4 separate regions of the Homo sapiens genome follow, and regions 1, 3 and 4 are each linked to region 2. Evidence: promoter capture Hi-C in 16 types of primary human blood cells and fetal thymus (Javierre and others, 2016). All regions are on one chromosome and are shown on one strand. The core of a region is centred on a gene start or on the middle of the fragment in contact, and the rest is flanking DNA. Distances in the headings are between cores, read along the strand shown.

Region 1 (4,829 bases), core at 1,271-3,770, 81 kb before region 2:
AAAAAAAAAATTAGGCTGGGCGTGGTGGCTCACGCCTGTAATTCCAACACTTTGGGAAGCTGAGGCAGGCAGATCACTTGAGGTCAGGAGTTCGAGAGCAGCCTGGCCAACGTGGTGAAAACCCGTCTCTACTAAAAATACAAAAAAAAAGCTGGGCGTGGTGGTGAGCACCTGTAGTCCCAGCTACCCGGGAGGCTGAGGCACGAGAATCGTTTGAACCAGGAGGTGGAGGTTGCAGTGAGCCAAGATTGTGCCACTGCACTACAGCCTGGGTGACAGAAGAAGACTCTGTTCCAAAAAAAAAAACAAAAAACAAAAATTAGCAGGCATGATGGCAGGCACCTGTAGTCCCAGCTATCTGGGAGGCTGAGGTGGGAGAATCACTTGAACCCAGGAGGTGGAGGTTGTAGGGAGCTGAGATCACACCACTGCACTCCAGTCTGGGCCACAGAGTGAGACCTGTCCCCCAAAAACAGAAAACAAAAATTAGCTCAGCATAGTGGCTCATGCCTGTAATCCCAGGTACTCCAGAGACTGAGGTTGATCACTTGAGCCTGGGAGGTCGAGGCTGCAATGAGCCGTGATTACACCACTGCACTCCAGCCTGGGCAACAGAGTGAGACCCTGTCGTTAAATACATATTTATGTGTCTAAATAAACACAAGTACCCTGGAATCTTGCCATTTCCATCAAATCTGAACTTTGGCTGTGTAGGGGTGAAGAGAAAGCTTCCTTATTGCCCTCTGAAGTTTCACTAAAAATTACTGAGAAAAGGCAGATTAATAAGAGAAAAGGAATACGAATGTATTTGATCATAGTGTTACCTGACAAGCCTTCAGAATGAAGATCCAGAGATACAGGGGAAACTGTGTTTTTGTTTTGTTTTGTTTTGAGACGGAGTCTGGCTCTGTTCCCTGGGCTGGAGTGTAGGGGCGATCTTGGCTCACAGCAGCCTCAGCTTCCCAAGCAGCTGGGATTACAGGTGCCCGCCACCATGCCTGATTAATGAAAAGTGTCTTATGCTTAGGTTCAGCAAAGTTTGAACACCCAGGTAGAAATTTGATTGGACAAAAAGGGTTTGTCGTGGTTCATACTTGTAATCCTGACACTTTGGGAGGCTGAGGCGGGTGGATCACTTGAGGCCAGGAGTTTGAGACCAGCCTGAGCAACATGGAAAAACCCCATCTCTACTAAAAATACAAAAATTAGCTGGGCATGGTGCATCTGTAATCCCAGCTACTTGGTTGGCTGAGAATCGCTTGAACCTGGGAGGCCAAGGTTGCAGCGAGTTGAGATCTTGCCACTGCACTCCAGTGTTGCCTGGACAACAGAGCAAGACAAAAAAAAAAAAAAAAAAAAAAAGCCGGGGGGGTCGTCTAATACTAATAGGCTGAGTGGGGAAACCCAGCAAGGCCTATCTGTCTAGATTCTTCTTGGAGTCTCAGGAATGCATGCTCAGAGAGGCCAAGAAGAATCTAGATAGATAGGCCTTGTGTGGGGCAGAAACTTCTTTGAAACGGGGGTCTTATGACCTACAGTCAATAGGGTAGATCAGATAATTTCTTCTTTTTTTGAGACAGCACTTTGGGAGACCAAGACGGGAGGACGGCTTGAGCCCAGGAGTTGGGGATCAGCCTGGGCTCAGCACAGTGAGATCTCATTTCTACAGGAAAAAAAAATATAATTATGTGTGTGTGTGTGTGTGTGTGTGTGTGTATATATACATACAATCTTTTTTTTTTTTTTGAGACGGAGCTTTACTCTGTCACCCCGGCTGGAGTGCAGTGGCATGATCTCAGCTCACTGCAACCTCTGCGTCCTGGGTTTAAGCAATTCTCCTGCCCCAGCCTCCCGAGTAGCTGGGACTATAGGCGCCCGCCACCACGCCCGGCTATTTTTTGTATTTTTAGTAGAGACAGTTTCACCATGTTGGCTAGGCTGGTCTCGAACTCATGACCTCAGGTGATCCACCCGCCTCGGCCTCCCAAAGTGCTGGGATTACAGGCGTGAGCCACCGCGCCCGGCCAGAAAAATATTTTTAAATTAGAAGGGCCTGGTGAATGACACTGCTACTCAGGAGGCCGAGGCAGGAGGATCGCTTGAACCTGGGAGGTCGAGGCTACAGTGAGCTGTGATCGCACCACTGCACTCCAGCCTGGGCGACAGACCAAGATCTTGTCTCAAAAAAAAAAAAAAATTGTTATGGAGTATATTTTCCAAGGCAGAGTGGATGAAGTTAGAAGCACCGAATAAATACAGGACTCTGAGATCCGTATAACCTGGGCGCCCCGTGGAACCCAGGAGCCTCACAGGGGCACACAAGCGCACCCAGAGCGCGCCGTCCTGCTCCCAAGGGGCGCCGACTGCGCGCGCAGCCCGCGGACCGCGAAACTGCTGCTTAACGGTCGGCCCCGCCCAGTTGGCCGCGCAAGTTCTCAAAGAGGGCGGGGCCGGGAGCACGCGTCACAACACACTCGTCCGCGGGAGCGCAGCTGGCCAGGGGCGGGGTCGGCGCATGCGCAGAGGGTGCGAGCTTGAAGGCGGGAAAATACGGAATGGAGCGACAGGGAGTACGCGGCGCTTGTTTCCTTCTCGCGCGTGGGGCGGGCGGACAGATAGGCAGGGAACGGCTGCGATCCCAGCCATCTCCAGCGGACCCGAGCCCGGCCGCTTGTCCTTTGCCATTGGGGCTCCCTCTCATCAGGCCTGGCCTCAAATTTCCTGACTGACTGAACCCGGCCCTGACTGACGCACTGACGGGTCTGATTTCCACACATGGCGCGTGGCCGGAACGGAGTAGAGAAAGGCACAAACACCCACGCACCGCACCCGTTTCTTTCATTTCTTTTTTTTTTTTTTTTTGAGACGAAGTATCACTCTGTCGCCCAGTCTGGAGTGCAGTGGCGTGATCTCGGCTCACTGCAACCTCTGCCTCCCGGGTTCAAGTGATTCTCCTTCCTCAGCCTCCCGAGTAGCTGGGATTACAGGCACGCACCACCACGTCAGCTAATTTTTGTATTTTTAGTAGAGACGGGGTTTCACCATATTGCTCAGGCTGTTCTCGCACTCCTGACCTCGTGATCCGCCCGCCTCCGCCTCCCAAAGTGCTGGGATTACAGGCGTGAGCCACCGCGCCCGGCCTCATCTCTTTTCTCCTACCTCTTCTCCTTTCTCGAAGGACTCCAGCCAACACACATACCAGTTAGGAGCCCAGGTCCTCCAGTTACATTCCCACAGCCCTGCCCTCACCCGGCCCCTCTAGGTCTGGTGTCCTGGTGTCCCCTAGGGACAGAGTGTCCTTTCACCCCATGCCCCTGCCCTCATGGCACCTGCCCCAGCCCTGCCCGTCTTTCCTGCGGGTCCCCACCGTCCCGCAGCAGCACATCGAGGTGACCAGGGTTGAAGGGTCGGCAGGAGGGCGATCTGTTCACTCCTCATCCTCCCTCCTTGGCCTCCGTCCTGACTGTGCTTGCAGGTGGACGTGCCCCATGTGAAATGCAAAGACCAGGAACCGCAGCCCTTGGGGGAGAGCAAGGAGCATCCGCGGTGGGAAGAGAACTGCGAGGAGGAAGCTGGTGGAGGGCCAGCTAGGTGAGGAAGATCCCAGCCCTATGGGTCTACACAGGCCCCTGGGTCCCTCTCATTCACCCTTTTCTTCCACAAGGCTATGCCAGTGTCTGCTGCTTTTTTTTTCCCTCCTAACACAGCGTCTTGCTTTGTCACCACGCAGTGGCATGATCACGGCTCACTGCAACCTCCACCTCCCAGACTCAAGTGATCCTCCCACCTCAGCCTCCGAAATGGCTGGGACTAGAGGCGGGCCAGAATGTCGGGCCAATTTATTAAAAAATATTGGCCAGGTGCAGTGGTTCACACCTGTAATCCCAACACTTTGGGAGGCCAAGGCGGGTGGATCACCTAAGGTCGGGAGTTTGAGACCAGCCTGACAAACATGGAGAAACCCCGTCTCTACTAAAAATACAAAATTAGCTGGGCATAGTGGCACATGCCTGTAATCCCAGCTACTCAGGAGGCTGAGGCAGGAGAATCGCTTGAACCCAGGAGGTGGAGGTTGCAGTGAGCTGAGATGGCGCCATTGCACTCCAGCCTGGGCAAAAAGACCGAAACGCTGTCTCAAAAAAAAAAAAAAAAAGCCAGGAATGGTGGCTTATGCCTGTAATCCTAGCACTTTGGGAGGCCGAGGGGGGTGGATCAAAAGGTCAAGAGATGGAGACCATCCTGGCTAACATGATGAAACCCCGTCTCTACTAAAAATACAGAAGTTAGCTGGGTGTTGTGGTGCACGCCTGTAGTCCCAGCTACTCGGGAGGCTAAGGCAGGAGAATCGCTTGAACCCCAGAGGCAGAGGTTGTAGTGAGCCGAGATCATGCCACTGCATGCCAGCCTGGTGACAGAGTGAGACTCCGTCTCAAAAAAAAGAAAAAAGAAAAATTTAGTAGGCCGGGCACGGTGGCTTACGCCTGTAATCCCAGCACTTTGGGAGGCCAAGGCAGGCAGATCATGAGGTCAGGAGTTTGAGACTAGCCTGGCCAATATGGTGAAACCCTGTGTCTACAAAAATTAGCCAGGCATGGTGACAGACACTTGTAATCCCAGCTACTCAGAAGGCTGAGGCAGGAGAATTGCTTTAACCTGGGAGGCAGAGATTGCAGTAAGCCAAGATTGTGCCATTGCATTCCAGCCTTGGTGACAGAGCAAGACTCTGTCTCAAAAAAAAAAAAAAAAAGTATATATATAGTAGAGGCTGGGCGCAGTGGCTCACGCCTGTAATCCCAGCACTTTGGGAGGCTGGCGCTGGCAGATAACTT
Region 2 (5,435 bases), core at 2,476-4,975:
AGCCACACACTCACACACGCTTACACCCACACACAGATTGCACGCTCACCTGGAGACATACCTGACTTGCTCCTCTCACATATTCACAGACACTTACAATCCTACAGACACATGTTCACACGTTCACATTCGCAGACTCGTGCCATTGCATAGGCACGTAATCCCTCACACAGTGACAATCACACACACACACCAGCACACTTTGCACAGTTACAAGGACACACACACACCCCATTTATTGGACTCCTCCCTTCCTTCTTCCTCCCAGCAGTCCCCTCGCTCAGTCCTCCCCGCTTGCGGATAAACATGTGAGACCCTATCCCAGAGCCTTGTCCTGGCTCTCTATTGCCCTCAGCTAAATTCCATGGTCAATAGGCGGTTCCCCCACTTTCCCAAGGGAGCTGTCTGTCTTCACAGTCTCCTTTGACTCTCACAACACAGCCTTCATCAGCCTTTGCACTGATCCCCATTCTCTGGCCTGCCTGCCCTATTCGACTCAGAGGGTAGAGACAGGACGTCATTGACCCCATACGCCCAGCTCCTAAGAACATAGCAGGTGTTTAGACACCATTTTTAGAATGAATAGAGTTCAAAGAAAAAGAGACAGGCCCAAACTCCCAGAAACGTTTCTCCAGAAAACATCAGAGAAACCTCTCTGCCTCCCCCAGTTTCACCAAAGGCCCATAGAAAATTCATTTAAGGACACCCCAGAAACCCTAAGAGACCCTTGGAAAGAAACCTGAGATTCCTCCCCTTGAGAAACAGCCCTAGTCGTCCTCCCCCACCTCGGGGACCAAGAGTCCCTCGATAGGCATCGCGCAATCTGCGCTTGCGCACGTCATCTTGGCTGCCCCGTCCTGTTGCTATGGAAACACCTGGCCAGGAGAGCAAGGCTCGGAGAGACTAAGACCCCGCGCCCAGGGCGCACGCGCTTTCGACCTGCCGCAAAGGGAGCCCCACCGCCTTCCCCGTTCCAGATCGGCGATTGGACCCCGCCTTCTTATAGGCCCCGCCCCGAAGGCTAGGCGCTCCTTCCCGCTGAGACCTTGGGGCACTCGCTGGTCCCCTCAGGCCCCAGCTCGGGTGCAATTAGGAGGAGAACAGATGGCGGCCCAGACAGTGGTTGGGGAGGGTCTGCCCAGGGTTCTGGGGCCCTGGAGGGGAGGGACTCACCTTCGGGAGGAGGCAAACGAGAAGTGGGCGGGGGTGTTGGGGGAGAAGTTTCGGGGGCTGTCCAGGGGACTGCTGCCTATGAGAGAAAGAGGGGGCAAATCCTGTCAGGTCTCTCGTTCCCTAAAGCGGCGTGCAAACAGCAGCATGTCCTGTCTTTAGTCTAGTCCCGCCTATTATGGGGAGACCACGCCCCTTCGCCTGTGGCCCCGCCTCTCTAAATTTTTTCGTTGCCGAGTCAGCCTGGCCCCTTCCAAGACGATTCTGGCTTCATCTGGGATGGCCCCGCCCCTCAGGTACGACTCCTCCTTTCTGTCCGTCCCACCTGAGTCTCCGCCCACCTGAGTCTCCGCCCCCCAATGACCGTCCCTCTGCGACTGACCACACCCACACAAGCATGGCCCCGCCCCTTATCCAAACTGGTTCGCCTCCATTCAAACTGCGCCCCTTCTGTAGCATGACCACGCTTCCTCGCCTGAGGCCCCGCCTACTGTAGGCCAGTCTGCACCCACCAAGTCTCTACCACTGGCCTCACCTAGGTGACCTGGCAGCGGGGAGTGGGGTCTCGGTAGCGTGGGTGAAGTGCTGGTCAGGATGAGGCTTTTCCGATTACTGGTGCGGCAGCTGCGGGGAAGGTAAGGCAGGGGGGCCGGGCCGGGCCGCAGCCCAGTGAGTTCTTGAGCCCCACCAGCTGACCTCCTGTCTCAGATCCCCGCCTATCTCCCATCCATGTGTGTTTGGAGGCTCCCTGGGAGGGTTTCTCGAAGAAAGGTGGTGCAGGCCTCGGCAGGACTGTGTACGGCAGGGGATGTGCATATGACATGTGTGTGAGAAACTCTCAGTATGGATTATGTGTAGGGCAGTGTCTGTCATGGTGTGATAGTCACTGTGTCTAGGTGACACCATTGGTGATACTGAGCGTGTCTCAGTCTATGCGTGACATTCACTGTAGGTATCCACGTGTGGTATCCACTGTATGAATTCAACAATGTGTGACGCTGAATGCATTCTAGTGTGATACGTGTGACACAACGTGGGTTTATCTTGTGTGATACAATTTGAGCATTTGTGTGTCTATGTGACACAGTGTGAAATGCCACTTGTCCATAACAATGTGTGCTGTAACACAGGCAGGTTGTATTATTATTATTTTTTTTCTTTTAAATCAATGTCTCGCTCTGTCGCCCGGCTGGAGTGCAGTGTGCAGTGGCTCACTGCAGCCTCAAACTCCTGGGCTCAAGCAATCCTCCCGCCTCACCTCACCCTCCTGAGTAGCTGGGACTACAGGTGCCTGCCACCATGCCTGGCCAGGATGCATGATCCCCCCTACATGTATCTATGTCTTTGTGTGGCATTCTGAGTCTGTGTCCGATACTGTCCTTCCGTCTGGGTGTGACATTCACCATGCTTGTCCATGTGTATGTAGCATCTATTGTGTGAATTTAACATCTTGTGACACTGTGTCCAAACATGTCACCACATTTGACATTCTCTAGGTGAGTCTTGCAATGTGATAACATGTGATTTTGCGTGGTTCTGTCTCTGCAAGATCCCTACATCTGTTTATCCTGATGTCAGTGTGACATAGTATGTGAGATACCTAGATATGACATCGTGTGTTGTGACATTCTTGGATGCATGGATGGGATATTGAAACACATGTTTGCATCTTGGATGACATAACTGTGTGTGTGTGGATCGCCATGTAAGTGACATCTTACTAGGTGTACACGACGTGGTGCCCCTGTGTGTCTGTGCATGGTTCTGACCTGTGGCAGCTGCAAGGCTAGGTATGTGTGGCACCTCCCAGTGTATCTGGGCCACTAGGGCTGTTGTGTGTATGTGTGTGACATCATGTCCTGTGTGACGCTGTGTGTCACTATTTTCAGTGTAAGGCTGTGTTCGGGGGGGGGGGTTGTGTTATGATAAACCCCCCCTTTTTTCTACCCCTCAGCATCCAGCTCCCGAAGAGGGAGCCCCAAGCCCCTCCGTCCGTCCCCTCACCCACAGCCGCAGTGACTGAGCATATTAGCGCGTCCAGGAGCACGCGGCATGGGGGTGGGGGGAGGCCAGGCTGCGGCTATTGTTCTGAGGGTGCCAAGCCCCCCAGCCTCCCCTTCTTCCTCTACCCCCACCAGGCTGTTGGAGCCCGCAGCGCCAGCAGACAAAGGCGCCACAAACCCCCAGTGGCGCAGCCCCCTCCCCCCGCGGCCGTCCTCTCCAGCGTGCAAGCCCCCCAGACTCGGCCCACACCACCCCCCATTCAACCCCAACCCCGGCGGGAAGGCGCAGCTGGGGCACCTCTGGCGCAGCTGGACCGGGCGCAGCATCCCGGGCCCCGCCCTGCAGCAGTACCCGGAGCGGCGGCTTTTGCGGGGAGGGCCGGGACAATGTCTAGGGGATCGGGGGTCTACCTCTTGGTGCGGCGGAACATACTGCCGCCGGGGAAGGAGGGCATCGAGAAATTAGAAAGCGCGGTCCAGAGAGAGTCAGACATGACCCGGCGGCGGCGACATGGTGGCAGGTGCGGCAGCAGCGGCGGAGGCGGCGGCGGCGGCGGCGCGGGGAGCAAGCGCGCGGGGCGGAGGCTGCAGCCGCCGCAGCGGGCAGGGGAGGGCAGGGAAGGGGAGGGCCCTGCGGCTGCAGCCGGCCGGGAGGGGGCGCTGCTGCGTGCCGGCGAGCCAGGCCCCGCCCGCGCACTCGCCTGGCGCCCCCACCCCGGCGGGAGAAGGGGCGGCCAGCCCCCGCCACGTCTCTCCCCAGGCTCACCTGCTGCTTTTCCGGGGCAGGGGCAAATCCTTCTGGAAGGCAAAGGGGCAAAACGATGAAGGTCAGCGTGGACCTGCCGTTGCTGCCCACAAGCATTATCAACTCCCTGGAGGAGCAGAAGCAGGGTAAGACAGGCCCCTCTTCAGCACTGTCACTTTCACCCTTGGCCATGCACTGCGGGCCAAGTTTCTTGGGGGAGAGGATCCCTGGGTGATTCCTCTCCTGACCCTCAGAGACCAACAGAGGCCCACGTACACAGGCGGGGCGCCATATAAAGGCAAGTGAGTTGGCATATCAGCGTGTGTTTGTGCAAATGAAATAGGAATCATTATTTGAAAAATATGTCTTGAGCACCTACTGTATGCTGACCCAATCCTAGGCACTAGGGACACAGTAGTGAATAAATTACAAGTCCGGTGTGGTGGTGTGCACCTCTAGTCCCAGCTACTTGGGAGGTTGAGGCAGGAGAATCGCTTGAGTCCAAGGAAACACCAGCGTGGGCAACACAGCAAGACTCTCTGTCTCAAGGAGAAAAAAAAAAAAGTTTCTGGCCTTTTGGGACTAGTATTTATAGGGTAAAGGGGACATTAAACAAGATTAGTGTAGAAGTGAACGAAATCATTTTAGACAATAATTAGTCTTATGAATAAATTAAACAGGGTGATGTGATGGACAATGGCTAGGATGGAGACACATTGTCAGACAGGGCTGCTCTGTGGAGGTGACTTTTAAGCTGGTTGCTGAAAGATAAGAGCCAGCCATGGGAGGATCTGTGGAGAGAGCATTCCAGGTGGAGGGAACTGCAAGGGCAAAGGCCTGGAGGCGGGAATAAGCTTAGCGTACTCAATGAATGAATGAAAGGTTGAATGAATGAAAGGTTGAAAGAATGAATGACTCATCTACACCTCAGCAGATCTATCTGACTCCCAGCTAGAGTCATAGAGTTGGGGTAGGGGGTGGGGGGTAGGTAAGTAGAGTGACTCACAACTGAGATTTAAAATGGGAACCACGGAGGCTGAGGTGGGAGAATCTCTTGAGCTCAGGAGGTCGAGGTTATAGTGAACTATGATTGCACCACTGCTGGAGTAAGACACCCTCTCAATTAACAATAAATAAATAAATAATAAAAAGTTTAAAAAATAAAAAAATAAAAATGGAAATTCAGGTGATGGCCGCATAGTCATTTTTTATAATGACAATAATAATAATTAGTGAGTATTAACTTTATGTGTCTGCATTTGAAGAAGGTCACCTTCCATTTGTCAAGCTCTTAGGAAGTCACTGTAGGGATCAGGAGATATGGGGTCTTGGCTTTTTTCTGAGGAAAGGAATGGGGTACAAGGGGCAACACCTGCCAGCCAGTTTTCTATCCACAGGGTGAGGTGGAAGGAAGGAAACTGAGTGGGGCTGCAGGTGGAAAGATTTGGGGGAGAGTTTCAAAAGGCCTTTGGAGGGGACTCCAACAAAAGGAAAATGAGGGATGTCCTAGACATTTC
Region 3 (5,353 bases), core at 1,721-4,220, 98 kb after region 2:
TAAAAATACAAAAAATTAGCCGGGCGAGGTGGCGGGTGCCTGTAGTCCCAGCTACTTGGGAGGCTGAGGCAGGAGAATGGCATGAACCCCAGGGGGCGGAGCCTGCAGTGAGCTGAGATCACGCCACTGCACTCCAGCCTGGGCGACAGAGCGAGACTCCATCTCAAAAAAAAAAAAAAAAAAAAAAAAGAGATGGAGTCTCGCTCTGTCACCCAGGCTGGAGTGCAGTGAGTAGCTGGGACTACAGGCGCCCGCCACCACACCTGGCTAATTTTTTGTATTTTTAGTAGAGACGGGGTTTCACTGTGTTAGCCAGGATGGTGGCGATCTCCTGACCTCGTGATCCACCCACCTCGGCCTCCCAAAGTGCTGGGATTACAGGCACGAGCCATCACGCCTGGCCATGCCTGGCTAATTTTTGTAATTTTTTTTTTTTCTGAGATGGAGTTTCACTCTTGTTGTCTAGGCTGGACAATGGCGTGATCTTGGCTCACTGCAACCTCCGCCTCCAGGGTTCAAGTGATTCTCCTGCCTCAGCTTCCTGAGTAGCTGGGATTACAGGCATGCGCCACCACCCCAGCTAATTTTGTATTTTTAGTAGAGACGGGGCTTCTCTATGTTGGTCAGGCTGGTTTTCAACTCCCAACCTCAGGTGATCCACCCACCTCAGCCTCCCAAAATGCTGGGATTACAGGTATGAGCCACCATGCCCGGCCAATGCCTCCCTCTTTATCTTCCTCCTCTGTCACCTCTTCTTGGTAACTTCATGGGTCCCATGGGGAAGTACCCAACTCGCTGGCCTTAGGGGTCATTCCCTGTTGGGGAGCTTGCCCACTCATCACTGCACCCTCTTCTTATGCTTCATATATTTTAAGCTTCTTTGGACTACTTCATCCCCTCACCTGGCCCCTGTAAACTGTCAGTGTTCCTCTTGGCTGGCACCCTTATCCAGCCCAGCCTCCACAGGTTCCCTCTGCAAACACTCCCTTTCCCCTTGCTGTTGGCAAAATCCCCCACTCTGGTTACTTCCAGCTTTTTTTTTCTTTCTTTTAGAGATAGCGTCTTGGCCGGGCGCGGTAGCTCACACTTGTAATCCCAGTGTATTAGGAAGCCAAGCCAGGCAGATCATTTGAGGTCAGGAGATTGAAAACAGCCTGGCCAACATGTTGAAACCCCGTCTCTACTAAAAAAAAATACAGGCCAGGCGCGGTGGCTCACGCCTGTAATCCCAGCACTTTGGGAGGCCAAGGCGGGTGGATCACGAGGTCAGGAGATCGAGACCATCCTGGTTAACATGGTGAAACCCCGTCTCTACTAAAAATACTAAAAATTAGCCGGGCATGGTGGCATGCACCTGGAGTCCCAGCTACTCGGGAGGCTGAGGCAGGAGAATCACTTGAAATCGGGAGGAAGAGGTTGCAGTGAACCGAGATTGCGCCACTGCACTCCATCCTGGGCGACAGAATAAGACTCCGTCTCAAAACAAACAAAAAAAACCCCCCCAAAACAAAAATTAGCCGGATGTGGTGGCGGGCGCCTGTAATCACAGCTACTTGGGAGGCTGAGGCAGGAGAATCGCTTAAACTCAGGAGGTAGAGGTTGCAGTGAGCTGAGATCACACCACTGCACTCCAGCCTGGGTGACAGAGTGAAACTCAGTCTCAAAAAAAAAAAAAAAAAAGATACCATCTCATACATAGCTCATTGCAGCCTCAAACTCTTAGGCTCAAATGATCCTCCTGCCTCAACCTACCAACTTACTGGGACTATAGGCACACACCACCATGCCCAGCTAATTTTGTTTGTTTTTTGTAGAGAAAGGGTCTCCCTTTGTTGCCCAGGCTGGTCTTGAACTCCTGACCTCACGTGATCCTCTTGTCTCAGTCTCTGCAAGCACTGAAATGATAGGTATGGCTTTCTAGCTCTTTAGTATCACTGCACTTGAGGGCCGAACACTCCTGAAGAGTATTCCCATCTTGCTCCTCACCCTTTTGGAGACGGAGTCTCGCTCTGTCATCCAGGTTGGAGTACAGTGGCACAATCTCGACTCACTGTGACCTCCGCCTCCCAGGTTCAAGCAATTCTTTGCCTCAGCCTCCCGAGTATCTGGGATTACAGGCGCCCACCACCAGGCCCAACTAATTTTTTTTTTTTGAGATGGAGTGTCGCTCTGTATCCCAGGCTGGAGTGCAGTGGCATGATCTCGGCTCACTGCAACCTCCGTCTCCCAGGTTCAAGCAATTCTCCTGCCTCAGCCTCCCGTGTAACTGGGACTACAGGTGCCGGCCACCACGCAAGGCTAATTTTTGTATTTTTAGTAGAGACGGGGTTTCACCATATTGGTCAGGCTGGTCTCGAACTCCCGACCTCAGGTGATCTGCCCGCCTCAGCCTCCCAAAGTGCTGGGATTACAGGCGTGAGCCACCGTGCCTGGCTTATTTTTGTATTTTTTTTTTTGAGATGGAGTCTTGCTCTGTCACCCACGCTGGAGTGCAGTGGCGCGATCTAGGCTCACTGTAAGCTCCACCTCCCGCGTTCACGCCATTCTCCTGCCTCAGCCTCCCGAATAACTGGGATTAAAGGCACCCGCCATCACGCCCGGCTAACTTTTTGTATTTTTAGTAGAGATGGGGTTTCACCCTGTTAGCCAGGCTGGTCTCAATCTCCTGACTTTGTGATCCGCCCACCTCGGCCTCCCAGAGTGCTGGGATTACAGGCGTGAGCCACCATGCCCAGCTAATTTTTGTATTTTTAGTAGAGATGGAGTTCCACCATCTTGGCTAGGCTGGTCTTTAACTCCTGACCTTCTGATCCACCTGCCTCAGCCTCCCGAAGTGCTGGGATTACAGGCATGAGCCACCACGCCCGCCCTTGCTCCCCTCTTCTGAACACAAATCTCCAATGGGCACTTGATGATCCAGACAATTCTGGTTCCCCCTGCTACCTTAATAAGTGTTTATGTGGTATTTTCTCCCTCCTCAAACTTCTATCCCATTCACTGCTGAGACCCTTGCCTGTTCCTTGGTGAGAAAGAGAAGCCATTGGCTGCCAACACCCTCATCTCTGCCCGGGAAGTGCCCCAATTCCTCCTGTTTCCCTCCCAGTCCCTGACCCTGGCAGCGCCCAAGTTCTGGGTCTGTATGCTGGATGGAGCTCATCCCACCTGAGGACTGTCCTCTGCCAGCATCCTCACTCTGCAGCATCTCTTTATTTTATTTTATTTTTATTTATTATTTTTTGTTGAGTCTCGCTCCGTTGTTCAGGCTGTAAAGCAGTGGCGCGATCTCGGCTCACTGCAAGGTCCACTTCCCGCGTTCACGCCATTCTCCTGCCTCAGCCTCCGGAGTAGCTGGGACTACAGGTGCCCGCCACCATACCTGGCTAATTTTTTTGTATTTTTAGTAGAGATGAGGTTTCACCGTGTTAGCCAAGATGGTCTCAGTCTCTTGACCTTGTGATCTGCCCGCCTCAGCCTCCCAAAGTGCTGAGATTACAGATGTGAGCCACCGTGCCCGGCCTTTATTATTTTTTTGAGACAGAGTGTTGCTCTGTCGCCCAGGCTGGAGTGCAGTGGCGCGATCTCAGCTCACTGCAAGCTCCGCCTCCGGGGTTCACGCCACTCTCCTGCCTCAGCCTCCTGAGCAGCTGGGACTAAAGGCGCCTGCCACCATGCCCAGCTATTTTTTGTATTTTTAGTAGAGATGGGCTTTCACCGTGTTAGCCAGGAGGGTCTTGATCTCCTGACCTTGTGATCCACCCGCCTCGGTCTCCCACAGTGCTGGGATGACAGGAGTGAGCCACTGCGCCCAGCCAATTTTTTTTTTTTTTGAGACGTGAGAAAACCTCGTCTCTACTAAAAATACAAAAATTAGCCGGGCATGGTGGTAGGCACCTGTAATCCCAGCAACTCCGGAGGCTGAGGCAGGAGAATCTCTGCTTCCTGGGTTCTAGCGATTCTCCTACCTTAGCCTTCTGAGTAGCTGGTATTACAGGCACCTGCCACCATGCCCAGCTAATTGGTTTATATTTTTAGTAGTGATGGGGTTTCACCATGTTGGCCAGGCTGGTCTCAAACTCTTGACCTCAAGTGATCCGCCCACCTTGGCTTCTCAAAGTGCTAGGATTACAGGAATGAGCCACCATGCCCAGCCCTCACACAGCTTTAAATGCCACCCTTGAGACAGTGACTTCCAAATCAATGCCAACCTCCTCTGGGCTCCAGACTCACATAAACAAGCTACTGTCATGATGTTTACACTTGGATTTCCAGTGGGCAACTCAGATTCACTGTGGACAAAATGAAATTCTTTATTTGTTCATTCTAAACCTACTCCTTTCCTAGTTTTCCCCATCCCAGCTGCTCAGAGAGACAAGAAAGACATGTAATCAATTCATTTCTTTTTCTCACCCAAGTAATCTTACTGGTTTACTTCCAAAATACATCCCTGGTGCGATGTGGTGGCTCATGCCTGTAATCCCAGCACTGTGGGAGGCCGAGGCAGTCAGATCACTTGAGGTCAGGAGTTTGAGACCAGCCTGGCCAATATGGTGAAAACCTGTCTCCTAAAAAAAACAAAATTAACAGGCAGTGGTGGCGCAAGCCTGTAGTGCCAGCTACTCGGGAGGCTGAGGCAGGAGCATTGCTTGAACCTGGGAGGCGGAGGTTGCAGTCAGCCTAGATCGGGTTACTGCACTCCAGCCTGGGAGACAGAGGAGTCTTGAGTGTCTAAAAAAAAAAAAAACCTCAAGTCTGACTACTTCTCCCCCAACATTCTGCCTCCACCAGAGTCCAGGATGTTGTCATCTCTCAACTGGTTACACCCCCAATCTCCTTGTTAGTTTCCCTGCTTCTACCCTGACTGACAATTAAATCTCCACCTGGCCGTCAAAGGGTACTTTTCAAACATGAATTTGGCCACGACATTGCCCTGCTTAAAACAAACAGCTTCCCGTTAATAACCTGGAGTCAATGCCAAACTTCTTAGTGGCCCATAAGGTCCCACACCATGTGGCTCTGATTGGTCTCTCCAACTTCTCCTTCCCCTACCCTGGCTCACTAAGCTTCAGGCACTCTGGTGTGCTTCCTGCTCTGCAATTCCTCATTGGTTCCCTTGTGAGTATGTTGAGGAAGGAGTGAAACACGAGAGACACAGGATATAGAGTGGATAGGACACGGTGGCTGCTGGTGTGTGCGCACAAGAAAGGCTGGAAGAGGCTTTTCCCAGAAGTGGGGGCTAAGCCCTGTTCCACTCACCATAGCAAAGAGGTTGTCATAGCCTTTGACCTTGGTAGGCACCTTTGAGAACTTCTGGTCAAAAGCATCTGAGATGTTGTGTGCTGGGTCTGTGGAGATG
Region 4 (4,973 bases), core at 352-2,851, 81 kb after region 2:
TGGACTTTTATATTCAGGAGTCATCAGGAGTCCGTGTGATATTAAATTAGTAAAACCTGAAGCCCTGAGGGCCTGAGAATGCAGAGGCTTGAGGCAAGAAGAACCCATGATCCTGGGACAGTGGCTGGCTCATTAATGAGTAATGCCAGGGCACTGATGTGGGTGTTTCAGACAGCAGAGTTTGGGAAGAATTAAGCAGGGCACCATCATAAAACCTGGAAGAGGTGAAACCCCGTCTCTACTAAAAATACAAAAAATTAGCCAGGTGTGGTGGTGCGCACCTGTAATTCCAGTTACTTGGGGGACTGAGGCACAAGAATCCCTTGAACCAGGGAGGTGGAGGTTGCAGTGACCCAAGATCGTGGCACTGCACTCCAGCCTGGGTGATGAAGTGAGACTCTGTCTCAAAGGAAAAAAAAAAACCTAGAATAAGCTGGGCCTGGTGGTTGTGGTGGAGGAGGAGGAAGACGAGAAGGAGGAGAAGGAAGAAGAAGAAAGAAGAAACCTGCAGCAGGGCTTGGTGGCTCACGCCTGTAATCCCAGCACTCTGGGGGGCAGAGGTGGGTGGATCACCTGAAGTCAAGAGTTCGAAACCAGCCTGGCCAACATGGTGAAACCCCCCTCTCTACTAAAAATTAAAAAAAGTTAGCTGGGTGTGGTGGTGCGTGCCTGTAATCCCAGATACTTGGGAGGCTAAGGCAGGAGAATTGCTTGGGCCTGGGAGGCAGAGGTTGCAGTGAGCAGAAATCACACCATTGCACTCCAGGCTGGGCAACAGAGAGAGACTCCGTCTCAAAAAAAAAAAAAAAAAAAAGAACCTGCAAGAACTCCCAAATTTTACTTAGGACAATGGATAATGTCTGGCAGGAGAAATCAGACTAACAACGTTTGAGTAAAAATCACTAGCAATTTATTGAGCACCTACTGTATACCAAATGCTTTAATGCCATTCTTTCATCCTCATGACAACTCGAGGAGGTAGTCAGTCACATCTTCACTTGAAGGAAAGAATTCAGGCAGGACACTGATAGAGACCTCTCAGGCAGTGGGGGTTGGGAAGTAGAGCTGGTGGTCAGGGCGGGCTGGTCCAAGAGTCTGGAAGAACTCCCGCCCCTAGCACAGCGCCAAACACATGCGGGCAGCGAGAGCTGGTCAAAAGTGTAGGTGGACTTTACAAAGGCACACGAGGCTTATGCAGACCGGGACACCTGCGTGGGTGCCGTGCAGGGACCTGGTTCCCTGTCCTTAGGGGGCTGGGCTCTAAGATCTCAGGCCAGATTCTCCTCCTCCTCGCCAATAGGGCTGGGCAGCCAGGGTGGCGCCGGACCCCGGGGCCCGGGCATGGTCACGATGCTGAAGGGCTCGACAGGCCCAGGGATGAGGGTAAGCGGTTCGGGACCCGCAGGGGGCGGGGCCTCGGGCTCCGGCAGGCCGGGGTCGAGCAGCGGGTCCCCGCAGCTGCACTCCGGGGCCGCGCCTTCGGGGACAACCGCGCATGAGCAGCTGGCCCCAGTAGACGCCTCCGACACGCAGCTGTTCTTGCGGAGTAGAAAGGACAGGCGCCGGCCCAGCGGGCCTCCCGCGACCATGCCCGCGCCCGCCGGCAGGAGGCGCTGCAGGAAGTCGCCGGGCGCCTCTCCCATCGGTCCATCCAAGCCGTCCAGCCGCTGGAACTGCATGTCTTCTTTGGCCAGCCTGCGGGACCGACAGTGGGCCAGCGCTGCGGCCTCGCCTCTTGTTGACAGAGCAGGGTCCCAGGCGCGCTGATTTCCCTGACTCCACCCACCGCTTTGTCCCACTTATCCCCAAAGATCTTAGCTCCTAAACCCAGAGCCTGGCCTCACCCTGTGTTTGCACTTCAACTTGGATCTTCAACCTCAGTCGTGGCTCAGCCCCATTTCCTTTTTTATTTTTATTTTATTTTATTTTATTTTGAGACGGAGTCTCGCTCTGTTGCCCAGGCTGGAGTACAGTGGCGCAATCTCGGCTCACCACAACCTTCGCCTCCCGGGTTCAAGCGATTCTCCTGTCTCAGCCTCCTGAGTACCTGCGACTACAGGTGCGTGCCACCACACCGGCTAATTTTTGTATTTTTAGTAGAGATGGGGTTTCACCATGTTGGCCAGGCTAGTCTCTAACCCCTGACCTCGTGATCTGCCCACCTTGGCGTGAGCCACCGCACCCGGCCTATTTTTATGTTTTGAAATGCAGTTTTACTCTTGTGGCCCAGGCTGGAGTGCAATGGCGCAATCTCGGCTCACTGCAACCTCTGCCTCCCAGGTTCAAGTGATTCTCCTGCCTCAGCCTCCCGATTAGCTGGGATTACAGGCGTGAGCCACCAAGCCCGGCTAATTTTGTATTTTTAGTAGAGACAGGGTTTCACTATGTTGGCCAGGCTGGTCTCGAACTCCTGACCTCAAGTGATCCACCTGCCTTGGCCTCCCAAAGTGCTGGGATTACAGGCATAAGCCACTGCGCCTGGCCTTTATTTTCATTTTTTGAGACAGGCTCTTGCTCTGTTGCCCAGGCTGGAGTGCAGTGGTGTCATTATGGCTCACTGCAGCCTCGAACTCCTCGACTCAAGCAATCCTCCCACCTCAGCCCCTGAATAGCTGGGACTACAGGCGTGCACCACCACGCTTGGCTAATTTTTTATTTTTAGTAGAGACGGGGGTCTCACTATGTTGCCCAGGCTGGTCTGAACTCCTGGGCTTGCTCAAAGGATCCTCCTGCCTCAGCCTCCCAAAGTACTGGGATTACAGGCGTGAGCCAGTGCTCCTGGCCTCAGCCCTCATCTCCTTTGGAATCACCACTGACCGGTCTGATCCTCGCTGACCTCAGCCCTTAGCTCTGTCCCCAGTCAGTGGCCCAGTCTCAGACCTTGACCTTGTCCCCTGACTCCTATCTTAGCTTCTGGCGTTATCACAGTCCTGAGACTTTAGCTCTTATCCCCATCTCCAGAATTGATTCCACTTAACCTTTTCAATCAGATGTGCCCCGCAGAGCCATAAGCCCTGCCCCAGGCGGCCCTGCCCACCCAACTGGCTCACGTGATGTCAAAGGTGGAGCCCTGGAAGGAAGGCTGCCGCAGCTGGAAGACAGTAGCCGCTGTGTATGGGGCGCGAGCCTCGGCTGCATCCCAGTACAAGTCCTTCTCCAGCACAGCCAGGTCATCATACATCTCGTCCACTGCCAGCATGGACACCTACGGGTGCAAACACACAGGGTAAAGTGGGGGCAGGGCAACCCGCCGGGACCACAGGGTGGACCCCTTCGGGTGGGTGGGGACCACAGAGGGAAGGATGGTTGGGGTGAGACCTGGCAAGACTTGGCAGGGGTGGGACCAGAACCCTGTTGGGCACTCCGGGATGGTCGCCACCTGGAAGTCTCACCTGGAAACTGAGTCTCACCTGGAAGTTTCTATCGATCAGAAAGTTGGTCTCAAAGTCATCATCGTCCTCTCCGAAGGGGTTGATGAGCTGCTCAGCTACCTGAGAGGAGAGGGAGCAGTTAGGTGGAAACTTGGGAACCCCATGCCCGCCCCACCCACGAAATTCCAGCCTGGATCACCCACCTACCTTGAGCCAGCCGGCGTAGAAGAAGAACTGCAAGAGGGTGAAGATGGGCACACACAGGTCTAGGTCGTGGTCTTTGTAACCCTGAGCCGGGTCCAGGAACTGGCGACCAATGAGGCAAGCCAGGAAGTAGCTGTACAGTGCGATGGTCACCACCTGGGCAGGGCGGGGCAGGGCTCAGGGGGGTCATTGGGGTCCAAGGCTAGGATTAGGCATCATTATGATGGGGGTCTTAGCTAGTTCTTGGTTTCCCCTTGGAAACCAGGCATCAGGGCCACTGACACCGAATATAAAAAGAGGCATGATGGGGTTACCTGCGTGTACACGAGGGGTACGCTAATCCAGTCATAGTGAAAGAGCATTCCACATTTGCCCCGAAAAACATTCAGCTCCTGGGGGTGGATACAGGTCATGAGGAGGCCTGAATGGTGAGCTCACACAGGGATATTAAGTGTAGGTACGTGGGATGGAGGTGGGTGGTCACCTGGTGGGAATTGGGAGTGTGCTTTGGGGGTTCCAGGGAGGGTATTTGGTGGTGAGTGTGCACCTGGATGAGGTACCATGCACCCAGGAGCTGCCCCTCAAGGGCATTGGAATCAGCCCCATGGAGGTAAGAGTGCACCTGGTGAGGGTGTTTGAAATCGGCCTCGTGGGGGTGCTTGGAGGGCCGCCGTTGACACAGCTCCAGGGGTACAATTTCCCTGGTATTCTATATGAATGACCTCCTGGTTGGGCCCACCTCGAGCAGCAGCTTAAGGGCGCTGTTGTCGCGGATGCGGCCCTCGCGTCGGGCCTGTGCCGCCAGGTTGGAGAACCAGACGCAGGGCACCCAGTACTTGTTGTAGGATGAGTTCAGGTTTTCAAACTTCTTGCGCTCCTCGCGGGTCATAAACCCTGGAGGAAAGGGGTCAGGGATAGCTCGCCCCTTGCCCCCCTCCACCTGGTCCTTGCCCGGTCTCTGCCCTGCCTCTGGCCGAGTACTCACCAGCCTCCACCACGTGGTCTATGGTGGGGAAGCGCTTGAACACCGCGGTGCTGACGGAGCGCAGGATGAGCACGGCCGAGAGCCCTGCGTAGCGCATGAGTGTGCGCCGGTAGAGGCGGCCGCGGTCGTCGCGTCCGTGCACGGTGCCCGCCACCACGCACATGAGCGCGTCGGGCAGCGGCATGCATAGGTACTGGCTCCACCAGCGGTTCACCACCAGCGTCACATAAAAGCCTGCAGGGGAGCGGGGAATGGGGGCTCAGTGGGGACACCAGGGCCAGGGGTTTGGGGGCCCAGGTTGTGGGAGAGGGGGCAACGTAAGGTCTGCATCAGGGAAACCCGAGCGTGCTGGCCAACCTGACCACGTTTGGGCTGGGAACTTGGGGGTCCAGCCCTGAGGTCAGAAAGGACAG

Evidence for each region. The method cuts DNA at HindIII sites, captures the fragments that hold promoters and counts their contacts. A CHiCAGO score of 5 or more calls a contact.
Region 1: a contact is called between the fragment with the promoter of SYCE2 here and the fragment with the promoter of MAST1 in region 2, in 1 of 17 cell types (M1 macrophages). The highest score is 5.2, in M1 macrophages.
Region 3: a contact is called between a fragment that was not itself captured here and the fragment with the promoter of MAST1 in region 2, in 8 of 17 cell types (erythroblasts, monocytes, naive CD4 T cells and 5 more). The highest score is 9.8, in erythroblasts.
Region 4: a fragment that was not itself captured here is called in contact with the fragment with the promoter of MAST1 in region 2 in 11 of 17 cell types (monocytes, erythroblasts, total CD8 T cells and 8 more); the score reaches 10.0 in monocytes.

What each region holds. Positions count from the first base shown.
Region 1 is chr19:12,916,984-12,921,812 of GRCh38, reverse strand. It overlaps SYCE2 (synaptonemal complex central element protein 2), which reads left to right and starts at 2,520. Exons shown (of 6, transcript NM_001105578.2): 1 at 2,520-2,570; 2 at 3,476-3,591. The coding sequence starts at 2,556. It overlaps MIR5695 (microRNA 5695), which reads right to left and starts at 1,493; the gene lies at 1,409-1,493. RefSeq lists an enhancer at 2,701-2,840. The HindIII fragment of the contact is 4,677 bases long and covers 731-4,829 here.
Region 2 is chr19:12,836,805-12,842,239 of GRCh38, reverse strand. It overlaps MAST1 (microtubule associated serine/threonine kinase 1), which reads right to left and starts at 3,725. Exons shown (of 26, transcript NM_014975.3): 1 at 3,585-3,725; 2 at 1,706-1,794; 3 at 1,174-1,249. The coding sequence starts at 3,667. RefSeq lists an enhancer at 1,679-1,738 and silencers at 3,645-3,694, 3,745-3,924, 3,929-4,112. The HindIII fragment of the contact is 9,607 bases long and covers 1-4,774 here.
Region 3 is chr19:12,738,559-12,743,911 of GRCh38, reverse strand. GET3 (guided entry of tail-anchored proteins factor 3, ATPase) reads right to left here. Exons shown (of 7, transcript NM_004317.4): 2 at 5,254-5,353. Among named protein-coding and RNA genes, the nearest start is that of GET3, 3.7 kb to the right of the region's middle. The HindIII fragment of the contact is 4,185 bases long and covers 878-5,062 here.
Region 4 is chr19:12,754,373-12,759,345 of GRCh38, reverse strand. BEST2 (bestrophin 2) reads right to left here. Exons shown (of 10, transcript NM_017682.3): 4 at 4,561-4,794; 5 at 4,315-4,469; 6 at 3,890-3,967; 7 at 3,579-3,731; 8 at 3,411-3,491; 9 at 3,051-3,205; 10 at 888-1,695. The coding sequence ends at 1,269. Among named protein-coding and RNA genes, the nearest start is that of BEST2, 5.1 kb to the right of the region's middle. RefSeq lists silencers at 1,297-1,696, 1,777-1,836. The HindIII fragment of the contact is 8,895 bases long and covers 1-4,973 here.